5 separate regions of the Homo sapiens genome follow, and regions 1, 2, 3 and 5 are each linked to region 4. The links are contacts of gene promoters, found by promoter capture Hi-C in human tissues and cell types (Jung and others, 2019). All regions are on one chromosome and are shown on one strand. The core of a region is centred on a gene start or on the middle of the fragment in contact, and the rest is flanking DNA. Distances in the headings are between cores, read along the strand shown.

Region 1 (2,700 bases), core at 120-2,619, 630 kb before region 4:
ACAAGAGCGAAGCTCCGTCTCAAAAAAAAAAAAAAAAAAAAAAATGCTCAGGCCAGATGGAGGTGCCTTTCCAAGCCAAAGCATGTATCTTACATCTGAGTGTGCTTTCTCAGGAATGGTAACAGCTACCGCTGGAAAAATAGGGCTTATTTAATCAATGCACAGATGCTAAAGCAGAGAATGGGCCTCTTCTCCAAGTGATGTTGAAGGTACAAATCGTAATGGTCAAGTCTACTTGGAAGACGTTTTTTAAAAAAGATCATCTCTGCTGTCTCCTACTACATTTGGTGGGTAAATTTCAGCAAGGAAGTTTAGTTCCTGACACTCAGAATGAAGTTGGATTTCAATTTAAATGAAAAAGGACCCAGTGTGTCTTTATTCTGTGCTCAGTACAACTCCTGTTATGCTTTGGGAAATGTCCAGAGAGGAGGAGATGGGGGTCTTTGCTTTAAGAACTTAGTCTTTAATTGGAGAGACAATTAATGCACTATGGATAATTAGAGAACAATAACTAGATCTTGAGGGAACAGTCAAGACAGTTAAGGATTAAATGGTGTGATAGAAGCACTAAGCACCATAGCATTTTGGAAAAAGACTTGATTTACTTCAAGTACCAGGAGATTGGGATTCTTGGCTAAGGGATCTTTAACCCTACACTTTTCTACCACAGGGCCTTGTTAACACATTCAACAGGAGAAATCAGTCCGTGGAATCTTTTTTTTTCACCCAGGCTGGAATGCAGTGTGCTATCTAGGCTCACTGCAACCTCCACCTCTCGGGCTCAAGTGATCCTCCTACCTCAGCCTCCCGAGCAGCTGAGACTACAGGCACACACCACCATACCTGGTTAATTTTTGTATATATATTTTTTCACCATGTTGCCCAGGCTGGTCTCAAACTCCTGAGCTCAAGTAATCTGACTGCCTTGGCCCCCCAAAGTGCTGGGCTTACAGGCTGAGCCGATGCGCTTGGCCAGTAATAATCTTAATACTATAAAGTTCTTGTTGTTAGTTCATGGGGGAAAGTATTTTCTTATCTCCACTTCTGAAACTGATTGATAACTGGACTTGGAAATCTTTCCAAACATCAGATGTAGTTTGAAGTCACCACAAAGTCACATTTAAAGACCATTTTTAAACCTAAAAAGGGCAAAAAAGGAGCCAGCCTCTCAAAGTGTAGAGGTGTTCATTTACCCAAAGCATATTATTATTAGTTGGATTATTATTATAGACCATAATATGCCTGTCATAAGCAGACTGTTTTTGTTGACTTTCTTGACCTTCTGGGGTAGGTAGTGCCACCTCCTTGGAAGAAAGATCCTTTTCGTGATGCCAGGGCAATGATTAACACATGGAAAATTGGAGCAAATGAAACTGCAATTAATACTGCTCAAACAGATTGCAGAGTATGATGAAGAACTTGGATGTCATTTTATTGCAGCCTCTCCTGGGGACACCATTATTTTATCACCTTTGACTTTTGGATGTATAGCTCCATTTGACATCTCTTGTCTTTTCCTGCTTTCTTTCTTTATTCTTCCCAGTGGGAGTTAGATGAAGAATGTCTGGCTTGCAGAAGCCAGACTTGGCCATTCTGGGAGATGTGCAGACTTTCAGATTGGCTTTGACAGTCTTACAGAGCTGTTCCCAGGATATGAAGCACAGCTGCAAAGCAGGCAGTTCGGCTTTGCCTTCTCTTACTTTCAAGATGTGTGATGGGAGGCGGGGAACATACAACCCCCAGCTGCTTAGACTCTTCTTTATCCAGAATTCCCCTTCCTTTATCTTTGGAGGCTTCAGATATCACTCAGTTGACTGATTAAATATCAGGTGATAGGAATCTATCTCTATGGTGGAATATATGAGGAGATAGTTTTGAGCAGGGACGCCTTCGAGTTCTTGCTTGCTCTAGTTTAGTGCTTCTCAAAAGGTGGTCCATCCACAGATGTTGTCAATATCATCTTGGAACTTGTTAGAAATGCGAATGCCCCACCTCAGACGTACCCAGACTATCCAGGGGGAGCCCAGAATCTATTTTCACAAGCTCTTTGGATAATTCTTACCCATACTACATTTTGCTCTAGCCAATACTTTTCTAAGCTTCCTTCAGCTTAAACCCTCCTGTCCTTTACTTCCTAGCTTATCTGCTGCAGGCAGTAGAATCCATTAGATGTAAGCTCCATGAAGACAGTGATCGCATATGTACTGTTCACTGCTCTTGTCCTCATCATAACCAGGCACAGAAGAGCTGATCACTAAGTAGTCATTAAATAAACAAGTGATTGGCATAAGCATTTGAACAAGGTGAAGAGACCACACTGTCTGTTTACAAAGTTGAAGAAGTCAATGCTGTCTTAGTCTTTCTTGGCCCTGAGGCAGTATTGCATGTGGCCATGGACCTAGACACTACTAGCCATTTATAGGCTGTCAGTTACTATGTAGCCAGGAGGATCCCCCCAGTGTCATCTCTTACCCTTTAAACTACACGAAAAAGCTTTGAAATGAAGTCCTTGAGCCAGAAAAGGATACCAGCCCCACTGTTAAGTGATGATTGTGTGCTAAAGCAGCCTAAGAGTTCTATCCTAACACAAGAGCCTAGAAAGTAACTTCTTAGGCAGTGTCCAAAGAATGCCAGTAGTCCTTGGGGACTTTTCAGAGGTGCTTGGCTTGAATCAATTTCTAGATCCCAAAGCAGAGTCTT
Region 2 (2,700 bases), core at 132-2,631, 650 kb after region 4:
TATGACTTCTTTGGAGAGTATCAAAATCGAAAATTTGACCCCACAGTTCTATTATAAGAATTTATTCTACCAATATATCCACGTGTGTGTGTCAAGATTTGTGTTCAGGGATGTTCAGTGTCATTTTGTTCAAAATTGCAAAAGAAAACAGACTAAATACTCATCCATGAGGGACTGGTTAAATAAATTACAATCCATCCACACAACAAAACATGATTAAAAAGCTGATATGGATGATCTCCTTCAGGATTGACTGCTAAGAGGAAAGAGCAGTTACAGCAGTGTATAAGCTTTGCTCCAGTGTATATTTTAAAAACAACACATATAGGCTGGGCACAGTGGCTCATGCCTATAATCCCAGCACTTTGGGAAGCTGAGGCAGGCAGATCACTTGAGCTCGGGAGTTTGAGACCAGCTGTGGCAACATGGCAAAACCCTGTCCCTACCAAATAAAAAAAAAAATTAGCTGGGCGTGGTGGTGCATGTCTGTGGTCCCAGCTACTCAGGAGACTGGGGCGGGAAGATCGCTTGAGCCTATGAGGCTAAGGTTGCAGTGAGCCGAGATTCTGCCACCGCATTCCAGCCTGGGTGACAGAGTAAATAAAACTCTCTCTCTCTAAAAAAAAAAATAATAAATAAAATAAAAAATAAAAACATAACACATCTCAGGTGTTCAGCCCAGTTGACTGCTCAGACGACTCCAGTCCCAGCTACCATCTGACTGTGACCACCAGAGAGATCCCCAGCAAGGATCTCTGTCTGGCCCAGTCAACCCAACAAGCCACCAGAGGTACTAACAAAGCCACACAGCTGGCTTGGGTGGGTTGTTACACAGTAACGGAGAACCGGGATATACGGCAACAGCAAACTGCTTACATTTTCCCCACCTCAAACCCTGGGCAGCTTGTGCCTCTGGTGCCCTTTGTGCATCTGGGTCATGTATGTGCCTGTGCCATGTGCATGAATGTAAGTATGGGTGCGTGTGTGTCCGTGCTGTGTGTGTGGATGTGCTATGTGCATCAATGTATGTATGGGTACGTGTGTGTGTCTGTGCCATGTAGATGACTGTGCTGTGTGTGAGTCTGGGCCATGTGTGCATCTGTGCCCTCACCCTGAATACCCTATGTTCTCTTCTCCACCTGGCTACTTCCTGCTCCCCCTTCAAGCATCAGTGTAGACACCACACTGAGCCTCTCCTGCTCCTCCAGGGTGGGCTGTGTCCTCCTCCTCTAGGCACCTGTGCACCCTGAGAACACCTGTCAGGATAGAGACTTCCAACTGCATGGCACTATGTGGACACTGAACAAATATGAAAAAAAAAAAAATGCCAAACTGAATGCACAGAAGAAAGGAAGGAAAGAGGCTTCTATTCATTTTGTGACCCCATTTAATGGAAGTCTGACTCTCTGTCCCCAAACTGAGAGTGGCTGCTCGTTCTTGCACGGCAGTAATTCACTCTGAGGTGTACAGCCAATCCCTTCCCAGAACTATAATTATGATATATGGTATATACTGATAGTTGAAGATTACATTCAGCTCAGCATTAAGAGGCAAGAGAGCAAATTCTCTTGAGGATAATTTGGGACTATATTACTTAGAAAAAGAAAAACATTCCAGAGCTGGAAAAGGCCCTGTTGCCTGTTATCCAGGCAACCAAAGAGACAACTAACTAGTCCAAAGCCAAATGGCAGACCAGGATGTTCTACCCAGTCCCTAACTGCAGGCTCTCTGCACCTCTCATCCAGCCATGTGTTTGCCTGAATGGTCACCCTGAAGGCACCGCCAGATGAACTGAAGGGCCGGGAGGAAAGAGAACATCACCAGGACTAAGGCAGCCCCAGCTGGTGGCCCCCAGGCTCACCGGGTACGTGGGCTTGGTGGCAATCTCCAGGAGCTTCTGCTTGGCTCTTCGCTCCGCCTCGCGTGCTTCCTGCAGGTCCTGCTTCAGCTGATCTGCCTCTTTGGCCCTGCAAGGAAAGGATGAGATGTCAGCTTCACAGAAGAGGGCAGGTAGCAGGAAAAGACACCACCCCACCCCTGCAGAGGAGGGACCTGGGCTAACCCTGAGGATGGCACCCAAAGAGGTGAAAAAGGACAGTGAGACAGGGATATTTACATGAAATCAGAACTTCCAAGCAAGGACAACATTCCTGAGGACTTTTGTTTGAGTTGGTAAATCTAAACTGGAAGAGCAGGAAAACTGGTGGGGAATGAGAGAAACCAGACCTTCTGCAGCCAGGAGACAGAGGAGCTGGAGAGGGCACCAGCAGCTTTCTCTGCTTTATTTTTGGGTGAGAGTGAGCTGGGCAAAGGAAGAACCTGGAGGATCAAAGTTCTTATATTGGATCGCAAAGGGCAGAATGTGCAAGAACTGCGTCTTCACAGCCCCCGGATAAAACACCAGTGGGCCTTGTGCCCACTTTCTCCAGCAGAAAGATGAGCCCAGTCACTGAGGGCACCCGCACCCTGGTGCAGATCCTCATCCTATGGGGCTCAGGTGGTCACGGCATGTGAGGCCTGGTGCAGGGACCTGGCCCAACCTGCATCATGCACAGGGAGTGACCCCCGAATACAGTAAGGGGCCTGAAGCAGGGCAGGCAAAAAGGAACCATATTCCCAGAACGACATGCAAAGCGTGGTGAGGAAAACTGTAGTGAATGCACCTTGGTAGCTAAAAGCCAAATTCAAGTGCTCTAAATC
Region 3 (2,700 bases), core at 132-2,631, 890 kb before region 4:
CCTGCCCTGCCCTCCCAAAGTGCTGGGATTACAGGCATGAGCCACCACGCCCAGCCTAAAAAAATTTGTTTTAGGCATTTCCACCCCTAGCTCTCTCCAGAAGTCTGTTATCACCAGTGAAGAGAAAATCCCATGCTCCCTTGCTGAGGAAGTGACCCACTGGTAGCCCAGTCCTTGCATTCAAGATGAAGGAAGTGACTGTCCACAGACGGAAAGCCAGGAAGCAGGGGGCAGATAGCCAGCCCCCCTCCACCTCAATACCCTCTTGCCGCCTCTCCAAAGCTTCTGGACGCTGACCCTGGTGGACCCAGAGGTGGGCCACCCACACAGGTGGCTGGGAAACATAGGAGACAGAAGGTTCCTACTGCTGGGGGAAAAGATGGGGAAGGCAGGAAGCTGCAGGGTGGTGTGTGAGGTGGCGGGGAGGTGACTGCAGGTGCAACTAACCCAACTCTGAAGCTACCCTTCACCCTTAGACAACTCTTCCTTCCAGGAGGTGTTTGGCCGAATCCCTCTAGTCTTTAGTCTAGAGAGGCCAAGGGAGCTTCCACAGGAGGACTCAGAACCCCAGGTGGCCTACTTTCGCCACCTGTAGCAGAGATCTTTGGGCCCCAAAAAGAATGGTCCGATCTCTCCTTACCCTTAGTCCTGTCCTAAACCTCAAGGGGCTCCATACTCCCTTATTTTCTGCAAAGAGCTCCCAGCCCCGGGGGACTCCCAGACACCAAGATGCCCGCGAGAAGCCTTGGGTCTTGGCAGGGAAGTCACATCCTCCATTTCCCTCAGAAAACCCAGAACCCGGGGTAACTCTCCTAATTGTCCTGAACCCTAGAGGATCCTGTACTCCTCAAATTCCACAGAGCTTCCACTATAAGAGAACCCCATGCTTTTCAACTTCCTTAAAAAGGGTTAATTTGGGGGTCTGCGGCCGCCAGGTCCCTCCAAAAAGCTGGATTCCTGGCAGACCCAGAATCTCTTCCTCCCCGGGACCTCAACTCGCGGGAAGCCTCCCAACCCGCCTGCCCCTCGGAGCCCTCTGTCTCCAGGATGCCCTGCCTCCCCATTCCCGGAGTCCCACCCTCCAAATGCCTGGGGAGCGCTGTGCCCACCCCGCCTCCCAGCTTTTCTGAGGAGCTCGGACCCACGAGGACCCAACCAGCCCGAAACCCCCGAGAGACAGCCGGTTTCCCTCAGGCGCCATGGAACCGGACTTCGGAGATAACAGCGGGACAGGGCGGAGCAGCCCTTCCTTACCCGCCAGCGCGGACATGGTCCCGGGAGCGCGGAAATGGGGAGGAGGAGGCGGGGGACACAGCAGCTCCCCTCAGTTCCCTACAACTCCCCTCAGCTCCTGCCGCCGCCGCCTCAGGCGCGGGAAGACCACAGCCCCAGGCGCGAACGGGATGCACCGCCTACGGCGCCCTGGGAGGACCAAACCACACCTGGCACAGGGGACTGCCCGCCGACGCCCCGCCCCGCCGCTCTCAGGCCTCGCTCCCGAGACGCGGCCCCGCCCCCTGGCTCTGGCTCGGGCTCTGCAGCGGCCCTGGCGCCCCCTAGTGCGAGCGGCGTCCCCTCGAGGTGCTCCCGCCGGTAAGGTTGATTCTGCGGGGGCCGGAAGTCTCAACACGGATGACAGTCCGCACCCATCTAGTCGCCCTCATTTACAGATAGGGAAAGTTAAGGATCAGAGGCTAAGTTCGACTACATTGAAATGGCTTCGCTCATTAGGAGGAGAGCCGGGATGGGAGCCCAGGCCTGCTAACTGCCAGTTCAGAGCTCTTTCCAGTAGTGTTTGGAATCAGGAATATTACAATGGAGGAGCCAGGTCTATCCCACAAACAGCTTTGAGGATGGACTTTTCTTAGAAGCTTCTAGCTCAGAGAAACCACTTCTCTGCGCCACTATGAGTAAGCTGACAGTAAATAATCTCTAAGTCAAAGACAGTTGGAGGCGACCAACCAGCATTCCAGGAGCAGATCCTCAGCCAGGCCAATTAGGTTTAGCGCAGGACGCTGGAGCTTGTGCGCCGCATTGGAAGACGAGCACTCCCCTGCAGGAACATGGGCCTACCATTCCCAGGTCTTCCAACCTTTCAAAACATGCCAAAAATCCAGATATTTAGGTGAAATTTGCCACTTTTAAAAAATGTTGATAGCATCAAAAAGTTCTTAAAATGCCATGTAGACCAAATGAAACACACCTGGCCACTAGATTTGCCCTGTGGGCTGCCAGTTTACAATCTTCTATGAGGAGGAGGGATTACAGGACTAAGAGTTAGGACAGCTGACTGGGTTATGGCAGCTGCTAGCTGGCTGAGTAGCTTTGAGAACCACTTCCGCTCATTAGGTTTGGAAGGAGATTGGGGTCCTCTGTGTGATTAAGATATTAATACATCATCAGCCAGGCCAGCTGGTCCCTGATGACCCACCCTCCCATCAGATTCTCTCACGCTGGGTCTTTCACAATTGTCATTTCCTTACATCAGATTTAGATCACAGGAAACATGTCCAAATGACCAGAAAGAGGATGGAGCCCAGGGAAATGGATTCTGTCCCCTCCACCCCCACCCCTGACCAAAGACAAAGTTCAACCCAGCTGCCTCTGGTCCCAGCAGTTGGGTAAGCAAAGGCAAAGGCAAAGACAAAGGCGAGCACAATTCTCTTCCTTCCTGCTCTAATTCAAACCGGATGCCGGTCA
Region 4 (2,700 bases), core at 27-2,526:
GAGATTACAAGACATGTTGCAACCAATTTGGAAAACAGTTTGCCAGTTCCTCGAAAGGTTAAACAGTTGCCATATGACCCAGCAATTCCACTCTTCCTTATCTATCCAAGAGAAATGTAAACATAAGGCCCCCACACAAAAGCTTGTACCTGAATGGTCAGAGCAGCATTATTCATAATGGCTAAAAACTAGAAACACGCGAATGACCATCACTGATGAATGGAAAAACAAAATCTGGTATAGTCCCAGCTCCCAGGAGGGGCAGTATAGGTCTTTCATGGCGGTGTGGGCCTATCCCAGGAAAGGGAGGGGTGGAGTCAGACATACCTGGGGCAGATGTGAATCCAGAAGCACTGATACATGCTACAATGTGGATGAAACTTGAAAATGTTCAAGAGAAAGAATCCAGACATAAAAGGCCATATATTGTATAATTCCATTTATATGAAATATCCAGAAAAGGGACATCTATAGAAACAGGAAGCAGATTAGTGGTTGCCAGGGACTGGGGGAGCCAGGATGCGGAGTGACTGCTAATTGGTAGGAGTTTCTTTTTGGGGTGATGAAAATGTTCTAAAATTAGAATGTTGTGATGGCTGCACAACTCTGTAAATATGCTAAAAATCATTGTACACTTTAAACGTGAATTTATGGTATGTTTATGTTCCATAAAACTGCTGGGGAAAAGACTACAGGAGAAAGTAGGTAGAGCTTCGGGCGTGCGTGGCTCAGTAAACGCTGGTGATTATTAATAATTAGGTCTCACGAGGTAATTTAAAGCCCCAGAAGCAGTGAGTGCAATGGGACTGCCAGACTTCTGGCTCAGGCTGGGCCTTTAAGCCGCTCTGCGTCCCTGAACTCACTTGGGCCTCCTCAGAGTTCCTCATAAATGAATGGGGCAAACAATCCCTACCACGTCCTTGGGGTCTCGCAGGGAGCGGGGCTCAGGAGGCAGATGAGGAATCCATGGAGGAAGCCCTGGGCCTCCGGCTCGCGCTCTGCAGTAGGTGACAGGCCCCGCTTGGAGCCAACCCGGAAAGGCCCGAGCTCGTCCAGGTGAGTTCTTGTGATTGGCAGCCCGGAGGAGGGCGGGGAGGGCTGCGGTGACGGCTGCCCCGCCCCCTCACTTCGGGCTTGTTGGCGCCCGCCGGGGGAGGGTGGGCGGGGCCCGGGGTCCGCGGCGCCCATTGGGCGTGGGGGGAGAGCTCCGGGGTGGGCCTGGAGCCCCGCCCCCCGGCCTTGCGGCGGCCAATAGGCGCCGCGCGTGGGCGGGGCGTCGGCGGCAGCAGGGCGGCTGAGGTGGCCGCTGGAGCTCAGGCGGCGGGCGCGGCTGGGATGGCGAAGAGCAACGGAGAGAATGGGCCGCGCGCGCCCGCGGCCGGGGAAAGCCTGTCGGGAACCCGGGAGAGCCTGGCCCAGGGCCCCGACGCCGCAACCACCGACGAACTCAGCTCTCTCGGGTCTGACTCGGAGGCCAACGGCTTCGCCGAGCGCCGCATCGACAAGTTCGGCTTCATCGTGGGCTCGCAGGGCGCCGAGGGCGCGTGAGTAGCGCCGGGGGTCGGGACTGAGCGCGCCACCCACGCGAGGGGCCTCGACACGGACGGAGGCGCCCTCGGGACTTGCCGACACGTCCCCCTCCCAGGCAGGGACCACTAATCCCCGTTCCCTCCCCTGCCCCACCCCCACCACCCCTGCCTTCCTAGACCCGCCCCCTTCGCAGTCCTACTTCCGACCCAGGGGGCGGACGGGCCCACACCTCCACCCGCCACCTCCACCCTCCGGACAGACTGACCCGCTCCCAGGAAGGACCGACTGTGCCCTCCTTCCAGCCGTGGAACAGAATGACAGACTGCCCCAAACCCACCCCTGCCGCCAAGACCTTAGGGATGATTGTTTCTGCCACCCCGACAGGCTCCCAGATGGCTGGCGCCCCCCTCCATAGACACTCATTCTCCATCTTTCCCCCTCCCACAAACCCACAGACGCCCTTGTCTCCCCGCCTCACTGCCCCCACACCAGGAGACCTCAGACCGACTTCAGGACTGACTGCCCCGCCCCCACCCCTTCCCAGGACAGACTGACCCTTTCCTCGAGGCATACAGACCTCTGGATGGACAGACATTGGTCACCTCCCTCCCCTCAGCTCCATCCTGGGACAGACAGTCCCTTCTCCTCATGGAAGGGTCGGAGAAGGGCCCCCTATCCGCTCATACACAGCTTCCTCCACTGGCACTGGCAACAGGTGGGCAGGTACTCCCCCTTCCCAGCACGTACAGGGCGACAGGGAGCCCCACCACTAGGACAGACCATCAGCTCCAGCAGCCACAGGAGCCAGTAGATGGGCTCTGTGTATGTCCTGTGTATGTATGCGCCTCCTCCCAAGGGCAGATCTTGGGCGTGGGACGGGGGCAGGCAGGGAGACAGCAGGGTCCCTGCTCATATTAGCACCCCCCGATGTCCTATCCCGAGAGCACCCAGACACCCAGCTAGCAGACAGAGAAATGTGGGGCAGTGGAACAGCACCTTGCCTCCAAGCTGGGCCCCATGTTGCCCCACAGAATCCCCCGAGCCCAGGCCTCAGAGATCATGTGTACAGGCTGGCGGTCCCCTTAGGAAAGATGGACTCCATACCCCACTCCCATCCCAGCTGTCCTGTCACGTGAGACCAGTGTTGTGCACAGAACTGACAAGACTCCC
Region 5 (2,742 bases), core at 85-2,584, 780 kb after region 4:
TTTATTGGAACTTCTTATCACCATTCAGTCACCAATTACAGGAATGAAAGTACAGGATAATTAATTTTTTCCCTACTAATTTGATCATTCATCCAATTAATATTTATTAAGTGCCAGGCATTTTGCTAGGTGTTGAGAAATGATGGTACTTATACATTTGCTTGATACAAAGATGGATGTGTACAAGTAAATTGTAGATACCAAAAATGAAATTATCATTAATAGTAAATGAATAAATGAGGTTTTAGGGGCAGAGAAATTAAACAATGTGACTAAAAACTCGATAGATAAGTTTTTTAAAATCCATTTTTTCCCCCAGGAATCTCACGTATTTGTGCTTATGCTGACAAGTTTTGTTAGAATTATTGCATTCAATCTATTCTAGCCAAGCTTTATGGCTATAATTCTGTTATTTTCCATTTAAGTTATCCTGTAATGTTATTTATAGAGGTCAAATTTTATGACAAGATGTTACTATTGCTGGGATCTCTGTGTAGGATCTGTAGAGATAGATTGTGCCTTTGCTGCCCTTATTCCATCTTCAATTCCTGTTACTCTAGTCCAAGCAGAAATTACTTTTTTTTGCCCGAGATTCTTAATCATTTTCCTTATACAATCATCCTCTTATTTTCTTCATGACCCTTCTCATGGTTCTGAGCTCCCTCCGGTGCCGTTTTTGGCCCCAGATGAGGATGGGTCAGTGGTGAAGGACTGAAGGAAGCTGAGCTAGCCCTGTCGTCAGTGGGCTTTACTGTTTTCTTTGCCCACAGGCAATAGAAATAGAAGAACGGAGGATCCAGAGCTGTGTGCATTTCATGACTCTAAAGAAGCTTAACCGATTAGCCCACATCAGGTTGAAGAAAGGAAGAGATCAGACCCACGAGGTAGTAGTTAAAAGGTTTAATTTTAACCTTCCTCCTTCCTCCTCCCCATCCCCTTCTTTTTTTTTTTTTTTTTTTTTTTTTGAGACAGAGTCTCGTTCTGTCCCCCAGGCTAGAGTGCAGTGGCACGATCTCAGCTCACCACATCCTCTGCCTCCCAGCTTCAAGCGATTCTCCTGCCTCAGCCTCCTAAGTAGCTGGGATTACAGGCACCTCCCACCACCATGCCTGGCTAATTTTTGTATTTTTTAGTAGAGATGGGGTTTCACCTTGTTGGCCAGGCTTGTCTTGAACTCCTGAGCTCAGGTGATCCACTCGCCTCGGCCTCCCAAAGTGCTGGGATTACAGGCGTGAGCCACTGCACCCAGCCCCATCCCCTTCTTTATTCCCTTTACACCTTCTCTTAGTTTGCTGACCCTCTCCTCTGCTCCATCCTGACTTGCCCTGCTCACTTCTGATCGTATTTTCCTTTCAGGCTAAGCAGAAAGTAGATGCCTATCATCTGCAGCTCCAGAACCTGTTGTATGAGGTGATGCACCTACAGAAGGAGATCACCAAATGTTTGGAGTTTAAGTGAGTTTGGGAGGACAGGGCTTTGGCACATGTGGTCTTTCGGTAACTGCTTTTTCCCATGTAGCTCACTGTAAGTCTGTTTCTTTTTTTTTTTTGAGACGGAGTCTTGCCCTGTCACCCAGGCTGGAGTGCAGTGGCGCAATCTCAGCTCACTGCAACCTCCACCTCCCGGGTTCAAGCAATTCTCCTGCCTCAGCCTTCTGAGTAGCTGGGATTGCAGGCGCCCACCTCCACATCCAGCTAATTTTTGTATTTTTAGTAGAGACGGGGTTTTGCCATGTTGGCCAGGCTGTTCTCGAACTCCTGACCTCAGGTGGTCCTCCCGCCTCGGCCTCCCAAAGTGCTGGGATTACAGGCGTGAGCCACCGCTCCCAGCCTAAGTCTCTCTTTAAAAAGAAATCTGATGAGCTTAGAAAACTGTAGGATCTGGGAGAAGGGCAAATTGCAAGGGTGAATGTGGGAGAATTGCAAGCCGTGATTTCAGGCTGCATAAAGAACCTCAGAAGTCTCTCTGACCTTTTTGAGTTTTGAGCTCTGCACTTGGTAAAAAGCAGGTCTCTCTCCCTATCAGGGGTCTTTACATTACCAGTTTGATTTCTGGGCATGTTGTATGGGAGCAACTCACTTCCAGTCACATTCTTTTAACCTTTTGGCCCAGTTTTCCTTTCTGTAGTCCCAGCAGTTCATTTCTGCAAATGGATTTTATTCTTTGGAACCTGAATTTCTTGCTGCTTAGCTGCCTTCAGGTGAAGAAACTACAGTTTGTCAGTGTCCTTCCTCAAAACCAAGCTGAGAGATGAGAAGGAGGAAGGAGTAAACGGGAAGAGAAGGGGAAGTGTTCTCACTTGATCAGACCTGTTTATGCAAACTGAAAGCAGCTTTTATCTGTAACAAACTTGACATATGCAGGGGCCCTATTAGACATTGGGTCCAGGATATATATATATATATATATATATATATATTTTTTTTTTTTTTTTTTTTTTTTTTTTTTTTTGGAGATGGAGTCTTGCTCTGTCGCCCAGGCTGGAGTGCAGTGGCGTGATCTCGGCTCACTGCAAGCTCCGCCTCCCGGGTTCACGCCATTCTCCTGCCTCAGCCTCCCGAGTAGCTGGGACTACAGGCGCTTGCCACCACGCCCGGCTAATATTTCGTGTTTTTAGTAGAGACAGGGTTTCACCGTGTTAGCCAGGATGGTCTCGATCTCCTGATCTTATGATCCGCCTGCCTCAGCCTCCCAAAGTGCTGGGATTACAGGCGTGAGCCACCACACCCGGTGGGTCCGGAA

What was found. The method cuts DNA at HindIII sites, captures the fragments that hold promoters and counts their contacts. A contact is called where the count stands out against the background at its distance.
Region 1: a contact is called between a fragment that was not itself captured here and the fragment with the promoter of TBC1D10A in region 4, in 2 of the 25 tissues and cell types used here (dorsolateral prefrontal cortex and hippocampus).
Region 2: a contact is called between a fragment that was not itself captured here and the fragment with the promoter of TBC1D10A in region 4, in 1 of the 25 tissues and cell types used here (IMR-90 fibroblasts).
Region 3: the fragment with the promoter of LIMK2 here is called in contact with the fragment with the promoter of TBC1D10A in region 4 in 2 of the 25 tissues and cell types used here (dorsolateral prefrontal cortex and heart left ventricle).
Region 5: a contact is called between a fragment that was not itself captured here and the fragment with the promoter of TBC1D10A in region 4, in 1 of the 25 tissues and cell types used here (hippocampus).

Annotation. Positions count from the first base shown.
Region 1 is chr22:30,952,297-30,954,996 of GRCh38, reverse strand. All of the region lies in intron 3 of MORC2 (MORC family CW-type zinc finger 2), which reads left to right. Among named protein-coding and RNA genes, the nearest start is that of MORC2, 15 kb to the left of the region's middle. The HindIII fragment of the contact is 6,988 bases long and covers 1-2,700 here.
Region 2 is chr22:29,674,103-29,676,802 of GRCh38, reverse strand. NF2 (NF2, moesin-ezrin-radixin like (MERLIN) tumor suppressor) reads right to left here. Exons shown (of 16, transcript NM_000268.4): 13 at 1,862-1,967. Among named protein-coding and RNA genes, the nearest start is that of CABP7-DT, 44 kb to the left of the region's middle. The HindIII fragment of the contact is 3,908 bases long and covers 1-2,700 here.
Region 3 is chr22:31,210,979-31,213,678 of GRCh38, reverse strand. It overlaps LIMK2 (LIM domain kinase 2), which reads right to left and starts at 1,381. Exons shown (of 16, transcript NM_005569.4): 1 at 1,255-1,381. The coding sequence starts at 1,270. RefSeq lists enhancers at 1-698, 1,661-1,840 and a silencer at 1,281-1,680. The HindIII fragment of the contact is 2,868 bases long and covers 91-2,700 here.
Region 4 is chr22:30,325,517-30,328,216 of GRCh38, reverse strand. It overlaps TBC1D10A (TBC1 domain family member 10A), which reads left to right and starts at 1,276. Exons shown (of 9, transcript NM_031937.3): 1 at 1,276-1,544. The coding sequence starts at 1,336. RefSeq lists silencers at 1,024-1,353, 1,654-1,703 and an enhancer at 1,920-2,700. The HindIII fragment of the contact is 10,227 bases long and covers 1-2,700 here.
Region 5 is chr22:29,541,571-29,544,312 of GRCh38, reverse strand. THOC5 (THO complex subunit 5) reads left to right here. Exons shown (of 20, transcript NM_003678.5): 4 at 771-884; 5 at 1,357-1,454. Among named protein-coding and RNA genes, the nearest start is that of THOC5, 11 kb to the left of the region's middle. The HindIII fragment of the contact is 4,062 bases long and covers 1-2,742 here.